Linked DNA regions of Homo sapiens: regions 2 and 3 are each linked to region 1. Evidence: promoter capture Hi-C in human tissues and cell types (Jung and others, 2019). All regions are on one chromosome and are shown on one strand. Each heading gives the region's core, a stretch centred on a gene start or on the middle of the fragment in contact. The rest is flanking DNA. Distances are from core to core; before and after follow the strand shown. Region 1 holds the start of QRFP (pyroglutamylated RFamide peptide). Region 2 holds the start of AIF1L (allograft inflammatory factor 1 like). Region 3 has its middle 28 kb from the start of EXOSC2.

Region 1 (4,657 bases), core at 2,158-4,657:
TCCTTCCAAGGCGTCCTGGCCCTTCACCGCCGACCGAAGCGGAAGCTGAAGCCGCCTTTCTTCCTGCTGTAGCCATTGAGCTCCTCAGCCAGGTTCCCTAACGGGCCGCTGGTCTTCTCCCCCGCAGCAGGGAGGAAGCCGGTGGCCTCACTGCCTTCGTCCTGCCTCCCGAAGCGGAATCTGCAGCCAGCATGCTCTCTGCCCGATGTCTGCAGCCCCCTGGCTATGACAAGCAGGGCCTGTGGCTGTGAAGCTCTCAGCCACCGAGAGGAACCCCACACGGAGTGGGGTCGGGGCCCCATGGCCAGGTCGGCCCAGCGTTCTCCAGCTCCGAGGCCACCCATGGCGTCTGTGGGCTCTCTTCTGTCCAGTAGAGGGAAGCAGGCGCCCAGCGGCAGGAAGAGGAAGTAGATCAGGGGGTAAGGCCTTACCATCTGACCCAGAGGAAAGAGAGGCAGAGTGACAGGCTGCACACGTGGCCAAGCGCAACTCACCAAAATGTTTCCCCGGGACAGGCTGGCAGCGTAGATGTGAGCAGGGGGCTCAGCTGAGCCCGGCTTCCGAGCAGTGCTGGGACTAGGCCACTGTTTTATTAGCAGGATCAGGAGGTGATTGTGCCAGTTAGGCCGGTTCTTCTCCTGCAGTCCCCACGATCTGCGTGCCTGGGCAGCTTAGCACCGTAAATCCACCGCTGCTGGCTGGCAGAGCAGTGCCCAGGCGGCCCCGGGAGAGTCAGCAAATGTATGCTCATTTTTCTCTTATTATAAAATGGCCATATCATTGCAGAGCCATGGGGTGGAAAGTTAAAAGCATCAATCTCCCTTAGTGTTCAACTGGATAATAAATGGGTCTAGCTATGCTGTTTAGCTGGGACATCCTGCTAATGTCTCTTTCACGTGGGAACGAGTTGCTCCTGAAAGCCAGAAACAGATTGGATGGTCCTGGCCTAATTCGGACACCCACCTGGGAAGGAGTGTGTGGACACCACTGGGGCCTGGGCACCGTAGGTCTGCCAGGCTCTGAGCCAAGAGCTCACACATGTGATTGTACTTCATCTTCATAGTACTCCTGCTTGGTAGGTCCGGCCAGTCCCACTTTTTCAGGCAACAAAACTGTCAGAAAAACTGAGATTGTGCCCAGGCCACACAGCCAGAAAGTGGAGGCTCTGGATTCATGATTCTAATGGCCAGACGGCTTCTTCAAGAAGCATACATATCTGCTAGGTACTCCCAACCCTCCTATTTCACAGGGGTGGTGTCGGTCTCAAACAGCTGAGGTGACTTGCCCCAGATCTCATGGCCTTATCAGTGCCAGAGCTAGAGTTCAATCCCAGGTCTAACTGGGCTTGACTCAGGAAGGCGTGCCCTAACTCCCTCCTCTGTACTCCACATGGCACTCGGGGGATCTGAAACCCAGCCTCCTGTAATGAACCTGCCTTGGTAACACTTGCTCCCTTGTCTGGCAAAGAAAACCTTTTTGACAATGACCGCGGGGGAGCTGGAGCTGGCTTGTCCTCCGCAGAGTCAAACTGAGGCTAGACTAGAGAGCACCGGCCCTGGAGAAGACAGTACAGGAGTCCCCAGAGCCCTTTCCAGAAATGGCTCCCTCGAACACATTTCAAAGAAGCGAGCTCAGCCAGGAAGCTTTTAAAAAAATAATACATGCAACCCCACTTTCTACCCAAATCCAGTTCTTCTAAGCTTTCGTCCCCCAGGGATGGAGTGACCTCCCTCATGCTGCCAGGAAAACCTTTCCATCAGGGCGCAGGCAGAGTGGGGGCTTCCACGAGGTGACTTTCTGCAGCGGCCCAGCCCATTCCCTCCTCCCCATAGGAAGCACTTTGCTGACTGCGATGTGGACCAGGGACCGTTGCATCCTGGTGGATAAATCCACCCGGGAGTGGCCTCTGGGTGTCTAGAAAGGAGACAGCCTGACAGAGCAGGCCCTGGAGTGGCCCTTCACCCCTTTTAGGGGTTCATGCACCCCTTCAAGAATCTGGTAGAAAGTGGGGATGCTCATCACGGGACAGGCGGCCCCAGCGCGAGTCAGGGCTTCAGGCCCCACAGCCAGGAAGGGACAGGAAAAGCACGGGTGAGGCTGGGTCCCAGCCCTGGCAGGGCAGCCGTGACCAATCTGTGCTGCTCTGGGCTGTTGGCAGGGGAGGCACTGGTGTCCCCTCTCCGGGCACTCCCTCCCTGTGCTTCTGTGTGCCCTCTGACTGCCCATGCCTGGCTCCTGCCTGGGCAGGGCCTGAGCTGGGGTTCCTGCTGGGGACAGGGCAGCTATGCTCACCGTGTGGCTGGGACTGCTCCCAGGAAGGCTGGCTGGTGGATCGCTGGGCTCCGGGGCTGGGCTGGGCAGAGCTGCTCTGGGTCCTCGTCCAGGAGGCATGGCCCCTGGGCTCTCCCTGCTTTATATGGCCCGCGGTGCGCTTGCTGCTCTGCCGACTGCCTGCTGCGCATTCCTGACCCTGGGATTCCATTGGGGACGCTGTTGTTGAAGAGGGGCAGTGCTGACCGCGTTGATAAAAACAACCTCACACAGGATGTAGTCTGATGAGAGGGCAGGCGGGCTGCCCTTTGGAGGAGAGCAGACAGCATCATTAACTGCAAATTGCGGGCACAGACCCTCGAGTCCCTTGGCGGGGGTTCCAAGCCCACCCTTCACCCTAAGGGTCCTGCCTTTGCTGGGTTGGCACCTCACGCTCCGGAGAGGACATGGGGTGGGTGGACATCTACCCGACACACCTACTGCCCAGCTTGCAGGATGGCTTTCATGGGCAGGAAAGCCACAGACACCCATGAGGCCCGTGTTTCACAGGCACCGGGCTGCGCGGCTAAGCCAGGTGCACCTCCCCGGCAGGTGGAGCCCTCAGCGGCCTGTTACCCAGGAACCAACCAAGGGGGCACGGCAGATGCCCAGGACAGCAGTGGAGCATTTGCCTGTGGCCCCCAGCCCCTCCCACCGCATACCCTGGGTGGCCCCCTACTGTCACCGAGGGTCACCTCTGGGAGGCCAGCAGGAGGACCCAGCCTCTGCTCCTTGCCCGGCAGAGATTCTCCCTCCACTGAGAGCAGGCAGGGGGGTGATGAGGCAGCCCCACCCCACCACTGTCAGGAACTGAGCACAGAGGGCCTCCCCCATTCCAGGGGCCCTCACCCAGCCGACCTACCCCTGCATCCCGGCTGCTGGGGGATCAGAAGTCATGGGAATAGAGAGCCTGTGGACACTTCCCCAGAGACCTGAGGAAGGCACTGGAATCTCGATCCTCCACTTCGGGGCTGAGCGCCCAGGTTCGGGCGGAGGGTCTGCGGATTGAAGCCGATGACTGAGCTTTGCTGGCCAGAACCAGCTTCCATCCCCCAGGCCAGGGCTGCCTCCGATGGCCTGAGGTGCCCCTGTCCTGTGTGTGCATGTGTGTGTATGCCCCCACATGAGTATGTGCACACGTGCGTACACGTGTGTGTGCTCGTGAGACGGGAGGTGTGGTGTCCTTCTGTCTCCCTGGTTAGTGCTGGTTGATTCTGACAGCGGGCACCAGTTATCCATGGGGTGCCGCCCAGGGTGGGTCTCTACCGTGCTATGAGCCTGGACCGGATGCCTGCCCTCTGGGTGCCTCAGTGCTCCCTTGGTGTAAAGCGAGGTTCAAGTTCCCAAGCTGTGCTTTGCAGAATTCCTCAGGAATGGCCATGGAAGTTGGGGAAGGCAACATGGGGTCCAATCCCGCAGGCACCCCTCTCCTACAGGCACCCCACTCCCCTACAGGCTACCCCTCTGCCCTACAGGCACCCCTTTGCCCCACACGCACCCCTCTGCCCCACAGACACTCCTCTGCCCTACAGGCACCTCTCTGCCCCGCAGGCACCCCTGTGACCCACATGCACCCCTGTGCCCCGCAGGCACCCCTGTGCCCCGCACGCACCCCTGTGCCCTGCATGCACCCCTGTGCCCCGCACACACCCCTGTGCCCTGCACGCGCCCCTGTGCCCCTCAGGCCAAGCCCCACTTTGCTGTGTTTGACATGTTGAGCTCCCAGAAAAGGTTCTGCTTTGAAACCACCAGGGCCCGGAGTCCTTTTGCGGGACTGAGGTCTGTGGCTCTGAGAGGTGGTCACAGAATGTCCTGCATGTGAGGGGCTGGTCTGGGGTGGGAGCAATATTGGGGTGAGGATGAGGGGTCCCCACGTGGCCCACATGTTCCCCAGCCTCAGGTCCCCGCCTGCCCCCTTCAGACCGGGGTGCCTGGAGCCCAGTCAGGCGTTGGATTTGGTGCCAAACCTTCTGACTCCAGGGACTTGCCTGGTCCCCTCCACCCCTGGAACTCCTGGACGGAAAAATTGCTTTCAGATGCCCTTCCTGGGCCCCTGGAAGCATCTGGGTTCCCCCACCTCTTGAGCAATTGGGGGTGACAACTGTGCCACTGTTTGCCACCAGCAGCCGAGATAGGCAGGGTCTGGGCTGCCTGGATGCACAGGGTGGCCGGGGCTAGATCAGTCCAAGAGTGGCAGTACCCATCGGGGCGGCTTCCAGCGCTGGAGGCTTTTTCTGCTGTCGGGTAAATGCAGGGAGGCGAGGCGTGAGGGTGGTGGGGCTGGTGGTGCAGGAAGCCGCTCTGGGGGTGGAGTCCGTGGACCACCTCGAAGCCTGTGGGGTTCCCT
Region 2 (4,657 bases), core at 563-3,062, 200 kb after region 1:
GCTCAGCTCAGTCCCAGCATCCCCGACGGGTGGAGAACTCGGGCCTGACATGTTGTGACTCACGCAGTCTGATCATGCCTGGTGCATGTGCTGATCTATTCTCTGGCCCCAGAGGTGGGGCCGCTGCCGGGTGGAATGCGGCAGCTGTTGAACATCTGGCTAGCAATGCAGTCCAGCAGCTGAGCAGAAGGTGGGGTGGCCCCTGCCCTGTAGGATGGCTGACTGGAGCCAACCAGCCCAACCGGCCAGGGCAATAGGCTGTTGGAGCCTGGAGAGGGAAGTGCATTATGAGGGCTCTGTCCTAAGTCAGCTCCCATCCACCAAGGGTGGTAACGCTAAGCTTTTACTCTCTGCTTAAACCATCCAGCAAGTCATCAAAGTTACAAAAGCCCCTGCTTAGTGCGTTCTGGGTTACTTCATTGTGAAGATCAGGGGACTGAAGCTCAGCCAGATCAAGTGCCTCGCCTAAGGTCATGCAGCTTGGCCAAATCCAAACCCTTGGGTGAGTGGACAGAGGAGCGTCAGCTAGGAGAGGTGGGCGCTGGTCTTACTGGGGAGGAGGGGCCTGCCCCCTGGACTGCTGCCCTGACCTCAGCCCCATCCCATTCTGCCTAGCCCCTTGCTGGGCACTTCCCTCCCCAGGGACAGCCACAGAAAAATGATGATCTCGGCTGGGCGTGGTGGCTCACGCCTGTAATCCCAGCACTTTGGGAGGCCGAGGCAGGTGGATCACCTTAGGTCAGGAGTTCGAGACAAACCTTGCCAACATGATGAAACCCCGTCTCTACTAAAAATACAAACATTAGCTGGGCGTGGTGGTGTGTGCCTGTAGTCCCGGCTACTTGGGAGGCTGAGGCAGGAGAATCACTTGAACCCGGAGGCGAAGGTTGCAGTGAGCCGAGATCAAGCCGCTGCACTCCAGCTCTGGGCAACAGAGCAAGACTCTGCCTCGAAAAAAATAAATAAATAAGAAAGATGATCTCAGGGTCCCTACCCTAGGAGTCAGATGCACGGTGGGGCCATTCCTAGCGCTGCCTGCCCTGGACAGCGCCTGTCTATGCCTGTGGCCCAGCATCATTATGAGGAGTGCTCCCTTGACTCTGGCTGTCCTGATTTGGACACTAGACTTCATGGTCACCCTGGCCACAGGTACCCTATCCTGCATCCTGAGCTCCGCTCTTCCTGGAGTCATGGGCTGGTCTTTCCTCCTGGTGGCCTTGCGCCCCAGCTCCAGCTTCCTGACTTTTCTCTTCTGGAAATGGGAATGCCAAGTCCTATTTCATGGAGTTTTGAGAATGAAATGACTGGTGTACGGTGCAAAGTGCCTGTGAGTGCCCAAGAAATCTCTTTTATTAACAAGACACGAATTCATTCCAATTGATTTGACGGGCCACTGTTGTCACAGCAGCCGCACTGCCCCAAAGGCAGCAGTGATGTTTGAGCGCCGACTCCCCGACGGCACTTGGTCCTCACAACCACCCCATGGAGTTCATGCTAAGATCCTCGCATTTCATTTGTGTGGCAGGGACTTGCTGAGGTCCGGGGAGGGGCAGAGAGGAGGGGTGCGGCCGCCCCGCGCTTTGCACTTTCCGCGTCCTCCAGCAGAGGGGTCGGCCGGCGGGCTCAGCGTCCCGCATAATAGCCGCTTTGAAGCCCGCGGAGCGGGTGGCGGGAGGGGAGGGGAGAGGCGGGAGGGGAGGGGAGAGGCGGGAGGGGAGGGGCGAGGCGGGAGGGAGGGAGGGAGGGGCCGGCAGCGGAGGGAGGGGTGTGTCGGCCGCCCGCGCCGTTCCTCCGCCCCTCGGTCCCGCGGCCACACGCAGCTAGCCGGAGCCCGGACCAGGCGCCTGTGCCTCCTCCTCGTCCCTCGCCGCGTCCGCGAAGCCTGGAGCCGGCGGGAGCCCCGCGCTCGCCATGTCGGGCGAGCTCAGCAACAGGTTCCAAGGTAGGCGCCGCCGTCCCCGAGCAGCCACCTGTGCGCGCCGGGCGGACCGCGGGGTCCACCGCGCGCGGGAAGCGGGCGGGGACGGGGGCGCGTGGCCCGAAGAGGACCCCGCTTCCCAGGCCGCCTCTTTGTCTCCTCCAGGAGGGAAGGCGTTCGGCTTGCTCAAAGCCCGGCAGGAGAGGAGGCTGGCCGAGATCAACCGGGTAAGCCCCGCGCCCAGGGCAGCACGCGAGTCCCGAGCCGCGCGCTGCGCGGGTGCCACCTCTCCTTCCGCGAGGCCGTGCCCGCCTCCAGATCTACCCTCTTCCTTCCCTTCCCCTGGGCTTCCCTCAGGTGCCTCCCTCCGCCCCCAGCCCCGTCGCCTCCGACTCCAGGTAGGTCCGCCTCCGCCTCCCGCCTCCGGTCTCGGGTTGCAAGTTGTTACTCTTGCAACTGGGGACTGGGGAGGTGGGGCCGGGTCAGGAGCTCGGATGCCAGCCGGCTCGTGGCTCCCCGCAAGCCCGCTTGGGAGCAGCCCAAGGATTTGGCGCGGGAAGGGCCCTAGGCCAGTGATCTCTCCAGCTCAGAACACAGGCTCCGGGTCATTTGCTGGTCTGTCGCCCAGGCTGGAGTTCGGTGGCCCAATCTCAGCTCATTGCAGCCTCCACCTTTGGGATTCAAACGGTCCTCCCTCCTCATCCTCCCGAGTAGCTGGGACTACAGGCATGTGCCCCCACGCCTGGCCTTAGCTATTGTTGTTATAAGGGATTCAAAAGTACAAATAGAAGACTCTGATGGGCGTAGAGATCCTGGCACTTCCCCGTGGTCTCCAGCCTCCCGCCTCCCTCAAACACACCACTCCTCTTCACTCCAACTTTCAGGAAAGATTGCCTTAAGGGATTCAATGCTTTTCTTGCTGGTCCTGGTGGATTTCTCAAAAGAAATCTTTCCTGTTGTTGCCAGGCATCCAGTGAGAGCTCCATAAATTTACATAGATTCTAGAAGATAAGGAAAGATATCAGGACCTGTCTGGGTTGGCCAAAGCTCAAAGGCAGCACAGCCAGTGGCTTTAAAGTTCTGCAAGACCTGGGCTCAGATCTGGCCTCCACTGTGTGCCAGCTCTGTGGTCCTCAGCAAAGGGCCTCTCATCTCCAAGCAGGGCATTGTGCAGGCTCAGAGAGGGAAGGCCCGTGGCCTGCATGGCCCAGCACCCAGCATTCAGGAAGCACTCACAGAACTAGCATTATTTCCTGAGGTGGATGTCTCCCAGTTTCCTTCTTAACTGGTGGCAGAGGCACGCCCGCTGAAACAAGGCTTGGCATTCCCCCTGCAGGCTCCTCTGGTCCCCTGGACACCCAGGGTCTAAGCCCAGCTGACAGTCTGGAAGTGGGCCGCTGGTGAGGTCAGCAGAGCCCGAGAAGGCTGTGGGAGGCGGGTCCGAGCCTGGGGCCAGGTTGTGGTATTGCCTCTTGCCAGCAGTGTGCAGCCTTGATTCCCCCTTGGTTTTCTTGGACTGCTTGGATGTAGGCAGCCTGTCTGTTTTCCATCCGCTGGCTACAGGACTCCCATTCGGTCCCCAGCTACAGGGCTCTGGGGACCTCAGGGTTCCCCCTCCAGGTAAGCTCCGGCCTCCTCACCGCCACCCTCACCCTGCTTCCTGGGGGCATCTTGAGCACAACTGGAAGGTTGCCCGGACATCTGGCTGGGGTGCTCAGGGGTCTCGGATCCCTGCTGGGCTCCTTCCCAGATCACTGTGTGCCTGCCCAGCCTGGGGCTTGGCTGCTCTAGCCCTCTGGACAGAAGGCTGGAACCCCGACCTCATATAGCCCCCTGGGTCACTTGGCCAGGCGGGTTCTGAGCTGGCTGGAGCCACCCACAGCCAGCGGGACCCTGAGCCACAGACAGCTGGAGATGGGGGTGAGGTGACCATGGTTGGACAAGCCAGAAGAGCTAAGAGGGCGGGGCCAACCTAGCCCTTGGGGAGGTGGGTTGGGGGAGGGGGCGGCTCCAGGGTTGTTTTGGGAAACCGACTAGCTTGGCTTAGAAAGAGGAGGGACTTTAACAGCTGTCAGGGGCTGATCTGGGCAGCACTGGGACTAGGGAAAGTGAGCAGGAAGGAGCTGTGGTCTAACCACCTCAGGACAGCGCCCAGAGAGGGCAAGCAGCTGACCCAAGGCCACGCAGAAGCCAGTGACAGAGCTTGCAGCCCAGCGTCCTTCCCCTGCCAAGACGCTGTACTGAGACCCACCATGACAGCCCAGCCGCTGTAGGGCTGCTGAGGCCCAGGATCTGGGGCCCTGTAGGAAGGAGGCGCCAGGATCACACGGGAAGCTTGAGCTGCTTCACCACAGTGGAGCAGGGTGGCCCCACCAGTTTAGTCATGAGGTACCCACAAGCACTGATCTGTGACTCTGGGCAAGCCACTCACCTCTCTGAGCCTCCTTCTCCAAAAAGATAATGGTTGTGATTTTTTCAGTGAGACAATCTATGTAAAGCACCCAGGAGAGCTGGCTGCGGCCCTGATAGCTATCAGGACAGTTTCTTTGTTCGTGGCCTCAAGGTGCAGGGAGTGGAAGATACTCCGCCCTGGCTCATGCTGGTTGCTCAGCCCAGCAGAACCTCGTCTTCCCCAGCCTGAAATGGGAGCAGGGATCTCTGCCCCTCTGGAGTCCCTGCAACAATTAACCGATGGAAGTGGATGGAAGCTCTTTGCAGACTGTGGGGGAGTCACTCTGT
Region 3 (4,657 bases), core at 1,480-3,979, 170 kb before region 1:
TCTGAAGACAAACCAATTTCTTTGGACCCTGGGTATTCTTTTTCTAAGGGAATACCATGTTATTTTGTGTTACAGATTGTTTGCGATCTTTCATAGGCTGATCTTTCTAGAGTTGGTTAATATCCATGTAGGTTAGATTGAAAAACTTGAATTCAGAAATGTACGGTGTTGGAGCAGACATGGATCTGGAAGCCAAGAATAGCGTTGGTGTTGTTGTTGATGGTGAATCTGAAAGAGTGGGCAGATGGCAACTTTTTGCCAGAATCATTCAGGGTCAAAGGGCTAGTCATATTTACAAGGGAAAAGAGGAAACCATGTTATTAAATATTTCATGCACCATATGTTCCTTTCAAATTTCAGTGGCTTGACTAAGAAAATTCACTTTTGGGAGAGTTGGTACAACAATTGAAAGCACTTAGTAGTCAACTTTTTCCTTAGTGTTTCCTTCTTCCTTCAACAAACATTTATTTTATTGAGCACAGACTATGACAGGTCGTGTTGTAGTCACTGATGATATATTTGTAAACAAAACAATCCCTGCCCTCCTAGAACTTACATTCTAGTGGGAGGAGACACATCATAAATAAGCTAAGTAAATAAAATACAGATATGTTAGTGATATGTGCTGAGGAGAAGAATAACATAGAGAAGGGGACAGGGAATGGGGTAGGAGGTGTAATTTTAGTTAGGGTGGCTAGAGAGGCCTGACTGAGAGGGCGGCATTTGATTAAAGACCCGAAGGAGGAAGATGAGCAGCAGGCCCTGTTGAAATATGTGAAAGAATTTCAGGCCGAGGGAACCAGGATGCAGAAACCTGAGGCAGAGCTTGCTAGTTTCAAGGAGCAGCCTAGAGGCCACTGCACCAGAGCAAAGAGCAAAAGGAGAGATGCAGGAGGTAAAATGGAGGGTGGGAAGAGAATGGCTGAAGGAGAGGGTGGCCTTATTGGCCCATTTCAAGGATTTTGACTTTGATTCATATGATGTGGGAAGGCCTTGGAGAATTTTCCGAGGGGACTATACTATCTGATGTATGTTTCAGTATGAAATAGAATCTCTCTGGCTGCTATGATCTGAAGGAGGACAAGGGAGCAGGGATTCCACGGGGGCATTGATTGCACAGAGCCAGGTAAGAGTGATGATGCTTGGACCAAAGTGGTGGCACTGGGTGGAGGGTCAGAACCGACAAGATTTGCTCTCGGATTAGATGTGGGATATGGGGGTGTGAGAGGGGCCAAGTGTGACTCTCAGGTTTTCGAACTGAATAACTGGAAGAATAGAGTTGCCTTTTATTGAAATGAAGGTCGAGGCTGCAGTGGTAAGCTGTGATTGCGCCACTGCACTCCAGCCTGGGCAACAGAGCAAGACCCTGTCTCAAAAAAAAAAAAAATATTTACCATCAGGTAAAACCACTTATGGTTCTCAAAACTTTATTTAAAATAATAGACACTTGATAAATCAACACTGTAGGCCGGGCGCTGTGACTCACGCCTGTCATCCCAGCACTTTAGGAGGCCAAGGCGGGCGGATCACTTGAGGTCAGGAGTTCGAGACCACCCTGGCCAACATGGTGAAACCTCGTCTCTACTAAAAATACAAAAATTAGTCGGCATGGTGGCACACACCTATAGTCCCACCTACATGGGAGGCTGAGGCAGAGGGATCACGTGAACCTGGGAAGCAGAGGTTGCAGTGAGCCAAGATCATGCCACCGCACTCCAGCCTGGGTGACAGAGCAAGGCTCTGTCTCAAAAAAACAAAACAAACACTAATTCTCATTACTCTTAAAATTATACTAAGGCCAGGTGCGGTGGCTCATGCCTGTAATCCCAGCACTTTGGGAGGCCAAGGCAGATGGATCACTTGAGCCCAGGAATTCAAGACCAGCCTGGGCAACATGGCGAAACCCCATCTCTACTAACAGTACAAAAAATTAGCTGGGCGTGGTGGTACACGCCTGTAATCCCAGCTACTCAAGAGGCTAAAGTGGGAGAATCACCTGCGCCTGGGAAGCCAAGGCTGCAGTGAGCTGTGATGGTGCTATTGCACTCCAATCTGGGTGACAGAGTGAGACCCTGTCTCAAAATAAAATAAAATAAAATTATACTAAGTATCTGTATACATTAGAAGGTGGGAGGAAGTGCAATTATTGGATCCTATAGGCATTAAAGTTAAATTTGTCAGGTTTTTTTTTGTTTTTTTTTTTTTTTTTGAGACAGAGCCTTGCTCTGTTGCCCAGACTGGAGTGCAGTGGCACAATCTCAGCTCATTGCAACCTCCACCTCCCGAGTTCAAGCGATTCTCTTTCCTGCCTCAGCCTAATTTTTTGTATTTTTATTAGAGACGGGGTTTCACCCTGTTAGCCAGGATGGTTTTGATCTCGTGACCTCATGATCTACCTGGCTCGACCTCCCAAAGTGCTGGGATTTCAGGCGTGAGCCACCGTGCCTGGCTATCCGATTCTCAAAGAGGTTATTTGGACAGGCTGGGCGTGGTGGCTCACGCCTGTAATCCCAGCACTTTGGGAGGCTGAGGCGGGTGGATCACCTGAAGTCAGGAGTTCGAGACCAGCCTGACCAACATGGTGAAACCCCATCTCTACTAAAAATACAAAAATTAGCAGGGCATGGTGGCATATGCCTGTAATCCCAGCTACTCAGGAGGCTGAGGCAGGAGAATCGCTTGAACCTGGGAGGCAGAGATTGCAGTGAGCCAAGATCACACCACTGCACTCCAGCCTGGGCAACAGAGCGAGACTCCATCTCAAAAAAAAATAAAAAGGTTATTTGGAAAGATTATATCCATCTACTTAATGCTAGGGATTGGATTGTGGCACGTGGACTGTGAAAATGCAAAATTGGAGGTATGTACTTTATTTTAGAGACAGGGTCTTGCTTTGTCACCCAGGCTGGAGTGTAGTGGCACAGTCATAGCTCACTGCAGCCTTGAACTCCTGGGCTCCAGTGATCCTCTTGCCTTAGCCTCCCAAAGCAATGGGATCGTACAGGTGAGCCATTGCACCTGGCCATGTATGTACATTTTTTATAAGCATTCAGTTGTTTCCAATAGTCTAATACATTTTGTATGGCCTTCTTATTTTTCATGAAACCTTACTACCCATTTTAAGAAATTTGTAATATAGAAGAAAACAGAAGTTTCAATTGTGGGGTAAGTAAAGAAAGATGATCAAAGATGATTTGACCAAAAGAGTTTTACTTCATTTAAATGAAGCATGTTGTCAAAGAAAATGAAAGTGGGAAAAAATGTGAAATCATTTTGTATCAGTTCAGGACAGAACCGTGCTTGTGCTTCAGATCTCCAAGTGTGAACACACTGATGTGTTGTGAAGTGTGTTGCAAATAGAAGCATTTTTTGAATGGGAGGGAGAGGGATGTGTTAACATGATTTAGCTGGGAATTAAACCCATAGGAATGTGTCGGGCATATTTTCTGTGACTAGGGGGTAAAAAGATTAAAATGGCTACTGAGGATGGGCTTCAGTAAGAGGAGGTCTCCCGAAGGCCTTCTCTGCCCTGTGCCTCTGCAGTTCCCTGACTCCTTGCTGTGTTCGTCCCTGCCTTTTTGGTAGTTGTGCCCCTGATGTCACTCCCCTGTGTGTTCAGATCCTACCTGCTGGCCAGGTGCAGTGGCTCACACCTGTAATCCCAGCACTTTGGGAACCCAAGGTGGGACGGTCCTCTGAGACCAGGAGTTTGAGAGAGTGGCCTGGACAACATAGCAACACCCTATTAGTACTAAAAATAAAAAAGTTAGCTAGGCATAATAATGTCCTGTGCTTGTCTAGCTACTTGGGAGGCTGAGGCAGAAGGATTACTTGAGTCCAGGAGTTCGAGGCTGAAGCAAACTGTGATCATATCATTGTACTCCAGCCTGTGTGATAAAGCAAGACCCTATCCTTTAAAAGTAAAAAACAAACAAACAAACAAAAAACAAACCTGCTTAACCTTTCAACACTCTCTTCCAGTCCCCCCTCCCTTCTGAAACCATATTTTACATCTCTGGTCCTCATTAAATTTTCTGTAACTTCTGCCCTTGTAACTCTTCTGCAACACAAATGAATACATAATCATATACTTCCTAGTAGTATTTCCTAATAGTTTTATGTGAGTTTCATGGAAGAGAGTGTTGAAACGTAGGTAGGTTTGTTTTTTATTTTTTAACTTTTTTTTAACTTTTTTTTTTGAGATGGAGTCTCGCTCTGTCACCCAGGCTGGAGTGCAGTGGCGCGATCTTGGCTCACTGCAAGTTCCGCCTCCTGGGTTCATGCCATTCTCCTGCCTCAGCCTCCCGAGTAGCTAGGACTACAGGCGCCCGCCACCACACCTGGCCAATTTTTGTATTTTTAGTAGAGACCAGGTTTCACCATCTTAGCCAGTATGGTCTCGATCTCCTGACCTCGTTATCCACCTGCCTTGGCCTTCCAAAGTGCTGGGATTACAGGCGTGAGCCACCATGCGTGGCCTTTTAAAAAAATTTTTAAGAGATAAGGTCTTGCTTTGTCGCCCAGGCTGGAGTACAATGATATGATCACTGTTCACTGCAGCCTCGAACTCCTCAAGTAAACTGTAAGCTTGTGAATGCAGGTTTCATCTCATTTTCTGTTTCCCCAGCATAATGCTGAATACATAGGCTCTCCATAA

What was found. Contacts are between HindIII fragments. The study calls those that stand out against the background at their distance.
Region 2: the fragment with the promoter of AIF1L here is called in contact with the fragment with the promoter of QRFP in region 1 in 2 of the 25 tissues and cell types used here (mesendoderm cells and pancreas).
Region 3: a fragment that was not itself captured here is called in contact with the fragment with the promoter of QRFP in region 1 in 3 of the 25 tissues and cell types used here (aorta, dorsolateral prefrontal cortex and spleen).

What each region holds. Positions count from the first base shown.
Region 1 is chr9:130,893,405-130,898,061 of GRCh38, forward strand. QRFP (pyroglutamylated RFamide peptide) reads right to left here and starts at 3,408. Exons shown (of 3, transcript NM_198180.3): 1 at 3,173-3,408; 2 at 2,293-2,577; 3 at 1-434. The coding sequence starts at 434. The coding sequence ends at 24. RefSeq lists enhancers at 226-740, 1,529-2,216, 2,217-2,903. The HindIII fragment of the contact is 19,380 bases long and covers 1-4,430 here.
Region 2 is chr9:131,094,719-131,099,375 of GRCh38, forward strand. AIF1L (allograft inflammatory factor 1 like) reads left to right here and starts at 1,813. Exons shown (of 6, transcript NM_031426.4): 1 at 1,813-1,942; 2 at 2,084-2,145. The coding sequence starts at 1,912. RefSeq lists enhancers at 1-109, 2,150-2,649. The HindIII fragment of the contact is 10,554 bases long and covers 1-4,657 here.
Region 3 is chr9:130,719,631-130,724,287 of GRCh38, forward strand. It overlaps a transcript of ABL1 not described here. Among named protein-coding and RNA genes, the nearest start is that of EXOSC2, 28 kb to the left of the region's middle. The HindIII fragment of the contact is 5,418 bases long and covers 21-4,657 here.